3 separate regions of the Homo sapiens genome follow, and all the other regions are linked to region 1. The links are contacts of gene promoters, found by promoter capture Hi-C in human tissues and cell types (Jung and others, 2019). All regions are on one chromosome and are shown on one strand. The core of a region is centred on a gene start or on the middle of the fragment in contact, and the rest is flanking DNA. Distances in the headings are between cores, read along the strand shown. Region 1 holds the start of MAP2 (microtubule associated protein 2). Region 2 has its middle 60 kb from the start of MAP2. Region 3 has its middle 33 kb from the start of MAP2.

Region 1 (3,768 bases), core at 755-3,254:
AACATACACACACAAATATAATAATCCTTACTGAATGAGAAAAATGCCTTTTTTCTTGAAGGAAGGGTTCTTTGTGTGCATGGGGCTGGGGCTTTTGGAACATCCATGATTTGCAAATTCACAAGGATTTCTACCAAAATACACCTATTGCCCGGTTAAAGGGCTGCTTTGTGTTATATTCTGATGGAAGGCTGTAATCTTTTCCCTGGGCATAAAATTAAAAGCATTCTAAAGGGCTTCTATTTATTCAATCTATTTGACTGCCAAAAAAAATCATAATTGTCCACAGTGAAATGACATAGTGAAAGAACTATGCTTTTGAACTGGGCTGGTACCTGCAGCTCATGCATGGGACATTTTGCATAATGTGGCTCACATAGAAGGCTTTGTTCTCCATCGCCTCACTGTGGCTGCAAACCTCAATTTCAGTTTGCAATCATTTCCTTTTCTAGACTGATCATTTTAAAATAAATTATACCTTTAACATTTAAATTAGTTCCTTACCAACAGTCATCAATCCCTTTGCCTCACACCCAAAATTATATACCACCCAACAATATTTTTTTGTTTTGCACTACAGATTTTATTCACAACATAATTTCCAAACCCTCAAATACAATTTTAAAAAATCAGTCTCTTAAGTACCTATTTCCTTTTGTAACATGTATATAGTGTATTATACATTTGTGTGCATACTTGTGTGTTTAGGCATTTAAACAAAAACCCTTTACACCGGACTCAATTTTAAAGCGTCTATGTCCTGGAAGCATTGTGCTAAGAGCTTACGACAGATGGCACACAGCAATTGTCACAAACGGGCTTGTTGCTAATGAAAGCTTTTTATTTTCTGACAAAAATCCTGAAGTCCGGATGCCAGGCAGAATAACATTAATTTCCAGTTTTCAAGGATTTTTTTTCTGACTCCATCCATACCCCTCCCCCTATACACACCCAAATATACAGCTCCCCACTCCTAGCCCCCCACACACTCTTTCTTGAAATTTCCATCCTTAAACAAAAGACGAGGTGGGGGAAGGCAGGCAGCCAGCACTGCAGTCCTCCTCTCCCCACCAAAAAAGCCTTTTAAAAAGAAAAGGAAGAAAAGAATAGATGCACTGTAGATTCAGAGGTCCACCCCCAACGTTTAAAAAGAAAAACGACTGTGTGGAAGCCTAACCAGACTCATTTCTTCGTGCCCCGCCCTCCAACACCACCAGGCATTTATTTTTCATTTTCCTACAATTATAAATATCAGTCCTCCTCTCCCAGCTGTTTCTGAAGGAATTACAGAGAAACATGATTTGAAATGGACAAGGCTTCCCTCACTCACTCACTTCCCAGTGTGCAGTTCTCTGCAGCTGGATGAACAAAAAAATCCCCTACCTCGATTTCCTATTTTCCACTATCTTTGTAGAATCCACTCCCCTTCTTTCCACAGCGCAGGTAATACTGGCTTTCGATACACGTATTCTAACCTGGCGTAAGTTTTCAGTTGTTTCAAAGTGGTACCTAACAAGCTCACTCGCTCTTCTACGAAGCCAGGGCTCAGGTACCAGTAGCGTCCGGCCCCCTGCTCCGCAGTGACACCTGGAGAGGACAGGCCCGAATCTTCCGCCAGGTGCACGGCTGGCCACTCGACCAACTACCAGACTGCCTGCTGCGAGTCCCAGAGGACGAGACACAACCCCTCCCCATTCCTATCTCTTTCTACTCAGAGACCGAGGCAAAAGGAGAGGCGCCCTACATAGAGCCAGAGGTGGGGACGGTCTCTTACCTGGGCGCAGAAACTGGATGCACCCGCGGTCGCGACTGCCACCGCTCACGGACTTAGCGCCCTCCGGAGAAAAAGGAGAGGGGTAGAAGGGTTAGGGGAAGAAGGGGAGGGGGGGGAAAAAGAAGGAGAAGGAAGAGAAAGAAGCGGAAGGGAAGTAAAGGAAGAGAGGATGCTGCTGCTGCTGCTGCTGCTGCCCAGAGCCCGCGCAGCCCGAGCGCCCGCCCCAGACTGAGAGCGGCGCCCCCAGCCGGCTCCCAGCGCAGCAGCTCCGCCTCGGCCCCTCCTCCCCGCCCCGCGCAGGTCCCGCCCCGCGCAGGTCCCGCCAGACTCCGCGAGCCCGTGGGCGGCCGCGGCGGGGCTGGCGCTGCCACCGCCGCAGTGTCCGGGAGGGGGAGCACGACCGCTTCGCCTTCTGCCGCAGCCGCCGGCCGCCAGGCGGGGACCGCGAGGTGGGAGCCTCGGAGAGCCCCGCCCAGCCGCTGGCCCGGGCCTTCTCCAGAGCCCTGGTCCCCTCCCGCGACAAAGTGAGGCCAGTGCCCGGGCGGCGGGACAGGCGGGCCTTCCTCACTGGCGTCCTTGGAAAATCGGGGGCAACAGCTTTAGTCTCTCGGGAGCAACCTCCGCAGACCCCCTGCTTCCCTCCCCTGTGTCGCTATGAGGCGGGGTTGCCAGTGGCACCTCACCAGGAAAGCTCACTGGCCTCGCCTCACAAACCCAACCACAGGTGCATCCAGAAAAGACAAAGGAATGTGGGGCGCTTGAGAACATAGAACAACTCTTGTCAGCACTAAAGGAGCAATGGCTGAGGGAGTAGAGAATTCTAGACCCAGCTCTGTCACGAATTAGATTCATTCATTTATTGAGTCAACGAATGTTTATTGACACCTACTATGTGTCAGGCACTCTTCTAAGCATTAGAAACATCAGTGACAGACCTTTCCCACAACCCTAATAAGAAAGATCCCCTCCCTTTATAGTTATTACATTCTAGATAGCCAGACGTATGCTCTAGAGACAGTTCACTTAATCTAACTCTCAGTGTATTCATGTGTCATATGAGAACTAAAAATGACAGCCCAATTCTCTTATGCTTAAAAAGATAATGAATATGAAGGATCTTTGAAGAATGATACAAATACAATGAATTAGAAAGCACGGAAAGTGTTGACCTTGAAATATCACCCTTAAAAAAATTGCCTCTTAAATGCTTTTGAAAGTGAAATGACCACCTGAGAAAACAAATGATTCTTTACCATTCGTACTAAGGAGTATGAATCTTCATAATCAGAGAGCAGCATTTTATTGTAAGTAAGAAAAGTAAGATGCAACTTAGAATTACTTCGAGTGTCTATATCAAGTACTGACAAGGTGTTTTTAAGGTCAGCCAACATACTGAGGTGTGGCTTGTACAGTCTTCACAGTGCTGATGAAACAGCAGCCATAATGTGGTTCTGTCACTTAAATTAACCACAGAATCTTAGAACCTAGAACATTAGAGTTGATGTTTTAGGCAGCTGGTCTAATTTCCTCCATTTTCAGATGGAAAGAGACCCAATGGTGGGAGCCTGCAAGGATTAGAAACCATCACAGAGGAAGCTGTGAAAGCCTGCCCTCCCCAGTCACACCCAGTGCTCTGTGTCCTGCCTCCCCCGCTCTGCTTCATACCATGTGCCAGTGACGCTTGCAGTGAGTTTGGAAGTATCAAGGCACACCCAGGAGCTGGGAGGTTGGAGGAGTTGATGCTCCTCCTCGGAAGATGGCCTTACTGAGAAGGAGGTCTTAGGAGACTAGGAAATCATAGACAGTATGTGGATGGGAGGAAGGAGTAGGCATGCTACCAGAGTGTTAGCAGCTGACATTCATGACCAGGCATGCAGGCGCAGGTGCTCAATGAGAGTAATTTTCCAGGGCCAGGAGCGGTGGCTCACACCTGTAATCCCAGCAGCTCAGGAGGGAGTATCGCTTGAAGCCAGAAGTTTGAGGGTGCAGTGAGT
Region 2 (3,768 bases), core at 889-3,388, 60 kb after region 1:
CTATGACTTCTCCCTGGAATGTCCTCGTCCTCATGTCTACCAAGTAAACACCTTTGTCTTTCAATTCCCAGTTCAGATATCACCTATCACCTCTTTGCTTAAACTCAGTAAAGTTAACCTATTTGTGTGTGTGTGTGTGTGTGTGTGTGTGTGTGTATGTGTGTAATACGTATCTTTAATACAAAATGTATTAATTTTTAAAAATTTTTAATATTTTAAAATAAGCATTTATTGGTTTAATAAATGCATACAATAGGATAAAAAAATCAATGAGAAACTTTCTTCCAAAGATAAAAAAGAGGACGGGCGCCGCGGCTCACGCCTGTAATCCCAGCACTTTGGGAGGCAGAGGCAGGAGGTCGGGAGTTCAAGACCAGCCTGACCAACATGGAGAAACCTCGTCTCTACTAAAAATACAAAATTAGCCGGGCGTGGTGGCGCATGCCTGTAATCCCAGGTACTTGGGAGACTGAGGCAGGAAAATCACTTGAACCCAGGAGGCAGAGGCTGCAGTGAGCCAAGGTCGTGCCACTGCACTCCAGCCTGGGCAACAAGAGCGTAACTCCATCTCAATAAATAAATACATACATAAATAAATTAGAATAAAAATAAAATACAACCAAATCAGGAATACAAGGTATCTTCTTTTAAACTGTGTAATATAATAGCTGAAGTTGGATGAAAATATTGTTTTAAGCTTCTCATAGAAGACATTTTTGAGATTCAGTATATCCAAGGGATATGCCTGTATCAAAATATGCCATGCACCCCATAAATATATATACCCACTATGTACCCACAAAAATAAAAAATAAAATAGCAAGTGCAATTAGAAAAAAAGCCAGATGCTTAAGAACTATATAAATTTCCATTGTTCTGAAAGAAATTTTCCCCAACAATCTTCATAATAAGCTATTTCCTGATATAATGATCAATTGCATTCAGGATTGATATTCAGCTAGTATGCATTAGTACAGGCATCCTGGTTGTTAAAATGTTGAAATATCATACCTTCTTACTGATTGGTAAATAGCCACCGCTTTGAATGCTTTCTCTTTACCCATTTCTGCTGTGGACCCTCTCTCAGAAGTCTCTGCTAATCTTTATCCTCTCCCTCCAGGAGCCAGTGATGAAAACTGGTGCAGCAGGGGTGGGGGAATCTTCAATACCTGCTGCAATACTCTGGGGCTGTTTCTCCTGATTGGTCAGTACCAGTGCCTCCTTACTTGTTAAATACAGCATGTGGCCTATTATCCCTGATTATTATTTTTTTTTTAATAAGACATGGTCTCATTCTGTTGTGCAGGCTGGAGTGCAGTGGTGATCATAGCTCACTGCAGCCTTGAACTCCTGGGCTCAAGTCATCCTCCTGCTTCAGCCTCCCTAGTAGCTGGGACTACTGTTGCATACAGAAAATCGTCCAAGCTCATTGTTTTGGTTTTCGTAAGATGACCTTTGTTTATCGCTGCAAATCTTGTGCCACCACATCCAGCTAATTATTAAATTTTTTTTGTAGAGACAGGGTCTCTCTATGTTGCCCAGACTGCTCTTGAGCTCCTGGCTTCAAGTGATCCTTTCACCCTGTCCTCCCAAAGTGCTGGGATTATAGGTGTGAACCACTGTGCGCAGCCTCTTCCCCATTTAAAACAATATACTTCTTGGAACTTAACATACTTCATTCCTGGCTTTACATATCCACTTGGGTTTCTGACAGGAACCTCAAACTTCACATCATAAATGAAGTGTTTTAAAAAGCTGAATGAGTAGTTAAATGTTGAGTAGTTAAGTATTGAGTTTTATGTATTCTCCCTAGTAGCTTTCTCAACCCAAGCTGATGGTCTTATGTCGAAGTATTATATAATTTATTAAAAGCAAATTTAGGAAGACCAAAGAATTTATACTTCTAGATAAACAGAATAACCACTTATTATTCTGGCAATGTCCCAAATAAGATTATTTGTCACAGTAAAAATTTTAATGAGAATTAGCAACAAAATGTTTCAGATTTAAATTTGGCGACAAGAGCAGCTGTTTTGTGTTGCTAACTAAGGACAGAACAGGCGTTGATAATATGCAGGTTGAGGAGACAGATCAAAACTTTGAGTGAAATTGGAGATGCCAATCAGGACAGTTATCTGGACAGATGGCCACTTCCTCTCAGTACTGAGGTAGCAGAGGATTTTTCTTCAGAAAATAGTTCTGGGTCCATGCCAAATTTGAAAGAAAGAAAAAAAAGAGCACCCAAGTGCATTTGTACACCAGAAATCGTGACCGTGCTATGCCATTATGAGGAATTAACAAAGCATGTTTAACTAACTCTCTTGATGATCATATTTTTTGAATTTTAAATCAACTTTATTAAGACATCATCTAAATACAATAAAAAAGAGCTCATTTTAAGTGTACAGTTCAGAAAGTTCTGATAAATGTAGTTGCCCATGGAGTCCATCTACCGTCAAGGTATGTAATATATTCATCACATCCAAATAGTTACTCCATAGTCAATTTCTTTCTGGTCAATAACCGCACCCCCTCCCAGTACCATAAGCCCCAGGCAACCACTTATATGGTATCTATCATTATAGATTAGTTCTGCTTATTCTATAATTTCTTATTAATAGAATTGGTCAATAATTACTTTTTGGTGTTTGTCTCATTTTCTCAGCATAATATTTATGATATTCATCCATATTATAGTCTATTTTTTATTAGTGAATAGTATTCCATTGTATAACTGTAACAGTATATTTATTCTTTTTACTGTTAATAGGCAGTAGAGTGATTCATGGACATTAGAGTTTGATTCATGTTAGTAATGTTGCTATAGAAATTTATTTGTTTATAAAAATTTGTGTGAGCATACCTAAATTAAATGTTTTAGATTTTATTTTAACTTTTTTTAGACTTATAGAAAAACTGCAATAATTCCAATTTACTCCTTACCCAAATTCCCCTAGTGTTAGCATCTTACATAACTATGGTACATTTATCAAAACTAAGAATTTTATATGGATGTACTACTACTGATTATAGACTTTATTTGAAGTTCCCCAGTTTCGCCACTAATGTCTTTTTTGATCCAGAACTCAGTCCTGGGTACCACATTTCATTTAGTTGTCATGTCTCTTTAGTCTCCTCTGATCTATGACAGTTTCTTAGCCTTTTCTCACCTTTTATTACCTTGACACATTAAAGAATAGTGGTCAAGTATTTAGTAGAATGTCCCTCAATTGGGTTTACCTGATTTTTTAAATGGTTAGCATGAGGATATTAATTTTGTGAAAAAATATAATGGAAGTGATGTGTCCTTTTTAGTGATAACAAGCCAAGATGATAAATATCTGCAGTAAAGCTATGCACTAATTGTCAATCATAAAGCGTTTTGTGATATATATATCAGAGATACATGATATATAGCAGTATATCTTAGGACAGGTGATGTTAATCTTGATCCCTTGGTTAAGGTGGTGCCTGCCAGGTTTCTTAATAAAAATGAAGTAATTATTTTTAGCTTTTTAAACTCTAGTCATTAGCAATGAGCCACTAAGTCCCAAATAAGATTATTTGTCACAGTCAAAATTTTAATGAGAATTAGCAACAAAGTGTTTAAGATTTTAATTTAGTGACAGGAGCAGCTGTTTTGTGTTGCTAAAGACAGATCCGCAGGCATTGATAACATGCAGGTTGAGGAGAGGGATCAAAACTTTCAGTGAAACTAGAGGAGCCAATCACTTGGTTAAGGTGGCGCCTGCCAGGTTTCTTAATAAA
Region 3 (3,768 bases), core at 853-3,352, 33 kb after region 1:
TCAAAGTAACCATTAGGTCTAAGTAGGATAGTGTCACTCTTGATTTCCCGATATTTCCTAATATTTTTGGATTAAATGAGTAATAAGACTTAAGAGATGATCTATTTTGGTCATGCATAAAATGACTATAGGAGAAACACACTGAGGTAAGAATGTGCTGTTTTTCTACAAGATTCAGATTGCCATGCAACTGAATCACCAAAGGACAAATGCCATTATTAAAAACAAAAAACAAAAAAAAACCCCTGAAATTTGGGACTCAGGCATGGTCAGACTGTGAAACTGACTACTTATCAAAATTTGAAGAGAGCTGGGAAAAGTCTCTCCTCTTTCCCAGCTCTAAAACAATTTCCCCACCTGTTTTGCCACAGTCCCTGAAAAATTCCAATTAGACATATTTGTGGTTAATTTTTAGGGGTTATCAGACAATAGAGAAAAATGTAGCTTGTAGGAAAGAGCATTGAATTTGGAATCAGCTATTCTGCTTTGAACAAGCTTGTCACCTCTGACCCTCCTATTGCGAAGTTGGGAGAAGAATATCTTTCTCAAAGAGTTGTGCTGTGAGAACTAAATGTCATTCCATAAGTATTTGTGTACTAGAGAATGCTACATATAGTGATGCTAGTTCACTTAATTTTTCCCACAGTGGACAGACAGCTCATAAGTTTTGGAAGATGAGAGCACCAGTTGTTCTGTAAGGATTCAGGTAATATTATGAGTAACACTACATTGTAGAAAAAGGCAAGCAAAGCACATTTTGATTATTTCACTCTTTTGTAAGAGGCAGGCCATCAATGAAGGCAAAGTTTGATAAGCATGTGACATGGAACTGTATTAAATAATCTGGAAATTCCAGTCTGTCCTTCAGATTTCAGGATGGCAGTGTTCCCAGAGAAGTTACTCATCCTGTTCCTAAAAACTTCAGAGAAAGAATTTTCTGCCTTAGTAAAGCATCCTACAGTTTGCCAGTCACAACGATGTAGAAAGGCTTCCAAATATCTTGCTGCATTCCTGCTGCAGTTGGCCTGATTGTGCCCCTATTGGAGATGGAAAAGTCCGAATGGAATTTGCTTAAAAGAAATTCATTATGTATTGTAGAAAAAAAATTGATGACACTAACAATTCACTTTGCAAAAAGTTTTTTAAACTTTACATAGCAAATTTATTGTTAAATAAAATAGCACTTTTCATCTATTTATAAAATAGGTTCAAAATCAAACAGATAAATTTAAATACATAAATATACAAATATTCTTGTGGTAAGTGGCTTAATGGAAGAAAATTCTCCTTTGGGTTCCTAAAACTTTTAGTTACCAAAGGTCTAGATAGCTGAAGTCACCTTTGAACAATTTTAGTTAGTTTTGTTTATTGAAGAATTTAAAAAGGGTAAAACCACAAAGAATGAGGGAGAGAACGAAGAAAAAAGACGAGAATGTCTTGTAAAATTGAATGTACTTGAAAACTAACATAGAACGATCTAGATGTCTGAATTTTACTGAGATATATCAAAAAGCTGTTTGACTCTGTATAGACTAAAAAAAGTTTGTTTGAAAAAGCATAGGAAAGTTTTGTTTTTACTGCTTTTTAAAATAATAACTAACATAAATGTTAATAAGTTGAGCATATTTTCAAAGAAGTGAATTTAATAAGCTTTCCACATTCAATATATACATTAATTTTTTCTAATAACTTTTTAAATGATAAGAATAATGCCTTCTTATATGGTTTTATTATTAACCAAACAAATTAAAATATGTTAGAGTCCATTAGGCAATTAGGTAAACAATGAACTGCTTACTTTGGAGGCAAAACACATTTGGGCAACTCGACTATTATCAAGTAAATAAGCACTTTAGAGCACTAAATGGTACCCTAAGGAATAGGGTATAGTGAAATAGTGGTATAGTGAAATGATTAAGTGGTAATAGTTAATATTTATTGAGTGCTTATTGTAGTCAGGCACTACTGAATGCTTCATAAATATTAGTTTATTTATTTTTTACAACTCTATGATGGAAGTACTATTTTTATTTCTATGTCATATATGTGGAAACTGAGGTCAGAGAGAATATGGAAGCTGCCCAAGTTCTAAGAGTCCAGAAGGGACAGATTCAGGAATGGAAACCAGGTTGTCAGATCCCAGGAACACACCCTTTTATCTACTGGATAACATTACTCTATCATAGGGAGGCCCAAGGCAGAAGTCAGGGATGTTATGGAGAACAAATGAGCAGAGTTCAGATTTAATGTCATTTCCTGCTATGCAAAATTAGATGTGCTGGTGCTTTCTAACTTTCTTACATTTGCCAAAGGAAATGATGAATATACAGTGATCAGCACTAAAAAGAGTTACTTGTTTTTTGTTTTGTTTTGTTTTTGAGATGGAGTCTTGCTCTGTTGCCCAGGCTGGAGTGGACTGGTGCGATCTCGGCTCACTGCAAGCTCCTTCTCCCGGGTTCACGCCATTCTCCTGCCTCAGCCTCCTGAGTAGCTGGGACTACAGGCGCCCGCCACCAAGCCTGGCTAATTTTTTGTATTTTTAGTAGAGACAGGGTTTCACCGTGTTAGTCAGGATGGTCTCGATCTCCTGACCTTGTGATCCACTCGCCTCGCGGAGTTTCGCTCTTGTAGTTCAGGCTGGAGTGCAATGGCGCAATCTCAGCTCACTGCAACTTCCGCCTCCAGGGGTCAAATGATTCTCCTCAACCTCCCAAGGGACTACAGGCACCCGCCACCACACCCAGCTAATATTTTGTATTTTTAGTAGAGACAGGGTTTCACTATGTTGGCCAGGATGGTCTCCAACTCCTGACCTCAGGTGATCCACCTACCTCGGCCTCCCAAATTGCTGGGATTACAGGCATGAGCCACCACGCCCAGCCCAAGAATTACAGTTTTTTGTTTGTTTGTTTTTAATGTAGAATTAGAAAGCTAATCCTTCTAAATCCCAACAAAGTGGTCCATGCAGGATAAAAATATATCCTTAGGTTGTTTCAAAATGAAAATGTTATACAATGCACAGCAACCTGGTGCAGTGCTAACTAGATTCTTAGAACTTCAGCTTTGCTCTTGGTATCCTCTAAGGGATATCAGTTTATATAAAAAGTCTTATTGTCAGATAGAACATGGCATCATATTTTTCAGTTGGTAACTTGAAGATCCTTTGAGATAATCCTGTTCAATTCTGTTATTCTAAAAAGGAAGAACCCAAGACTCAAGTATTACTGTAAGCAGTAAGCAGGAGTGATTAAAACCTAAGCCTTCTGAATCTTTGTGTTTAATATTTCCAGACAGCTCACGTAAGTAAATAGAGGCACTATAGGCAGAATGCCTGCATCCTTCAGCCCTGATTTCCTCCTGCTTTGTACTCTGAATACTCTATTAGCTTCAAGAAAGAAAAATGAAGAGAAAGCTTCGGGATGGAATTTTATTGCTCTCAAGAGGTGTCAGAAAGTCATGAAACCAAAGGAAGGATTATCCCCTTCTGACGGGCAGGGGATAATCTTTGCTATTGTGGGTATAGCGGTCTGACAGGACTAGTGACTCCCTGGGGCTATTTGATATTTCTTAAATAAAGAGCCTTTGGAATACCTTGCCTGAGATAGGTTTCCATGGAAACAGTGGAGTCAGCTGCACTCGGTTAGTAAAAGATTTCACCAATTTGCTTACCTTCCAAAACATGGTTAGTGCAGACTCTCAGAACAGAAGCTCTACCTCTAAAGCATTTGACATTGACCGCTGACTGTTTCAGGAGGTCACCTTTTAAAT

What was found. The method cuts DNA at HindIII sites, captures the fragments that hold promoters and counts their contacts. A contact is called where the count stands out against the background at its distance.
Region 2: a fragment that was not itself captured here is called in contact with the fragment with the promoter of MAP2 in region 1 in 3 of the 25 tissues and cell types used here (H1 embryonic stem cells, aorta and hippocampus).
Region 3: a contact is called between a fragment that was not itself captured here and the fragment with the promoter of MAP2 in region 1, in 1 of the 25 tissues and cell types used here (hippocampus).

Annotation. Positions count from the first base shown.
Region 1 is chr2:209,422,283-209,426,050 of GRCh38, reverse strand. MAP2 (microtubule associated protein 2) reads right to left here and starts at 2,004. Exons shown (of 16, transcript NM_001375505.1): 1 at 1,775-2,004. RefSeq lists a silencer at 1,934-2,323. The HindIII fragment of the contact is 7,301 bases long and covers 1-3,768 here.
Region 2 is chr2:209,362,641-209,366,408 of GRCh38, reverse strand. No RefSeq gene overlaps it. Among named protein-coding and RNA genes, the nearest start is that of MAP2, 60 kb to the left of the region's middle. The HindIII fragment of the contact is 5,849 bases long and covers 1-3,768 here.
Region 3 is chr2:209,389,094-209,392,861 of GRCh38, reverse strand. No RefSeq gene overlaps it. Among named protein-coding and RNA genes, the nearest start is that of MAP2, 33 kb to the left of the region's middle. The HindIII fragment of the contact is 3,846 bases long and covers 180-3,768 here.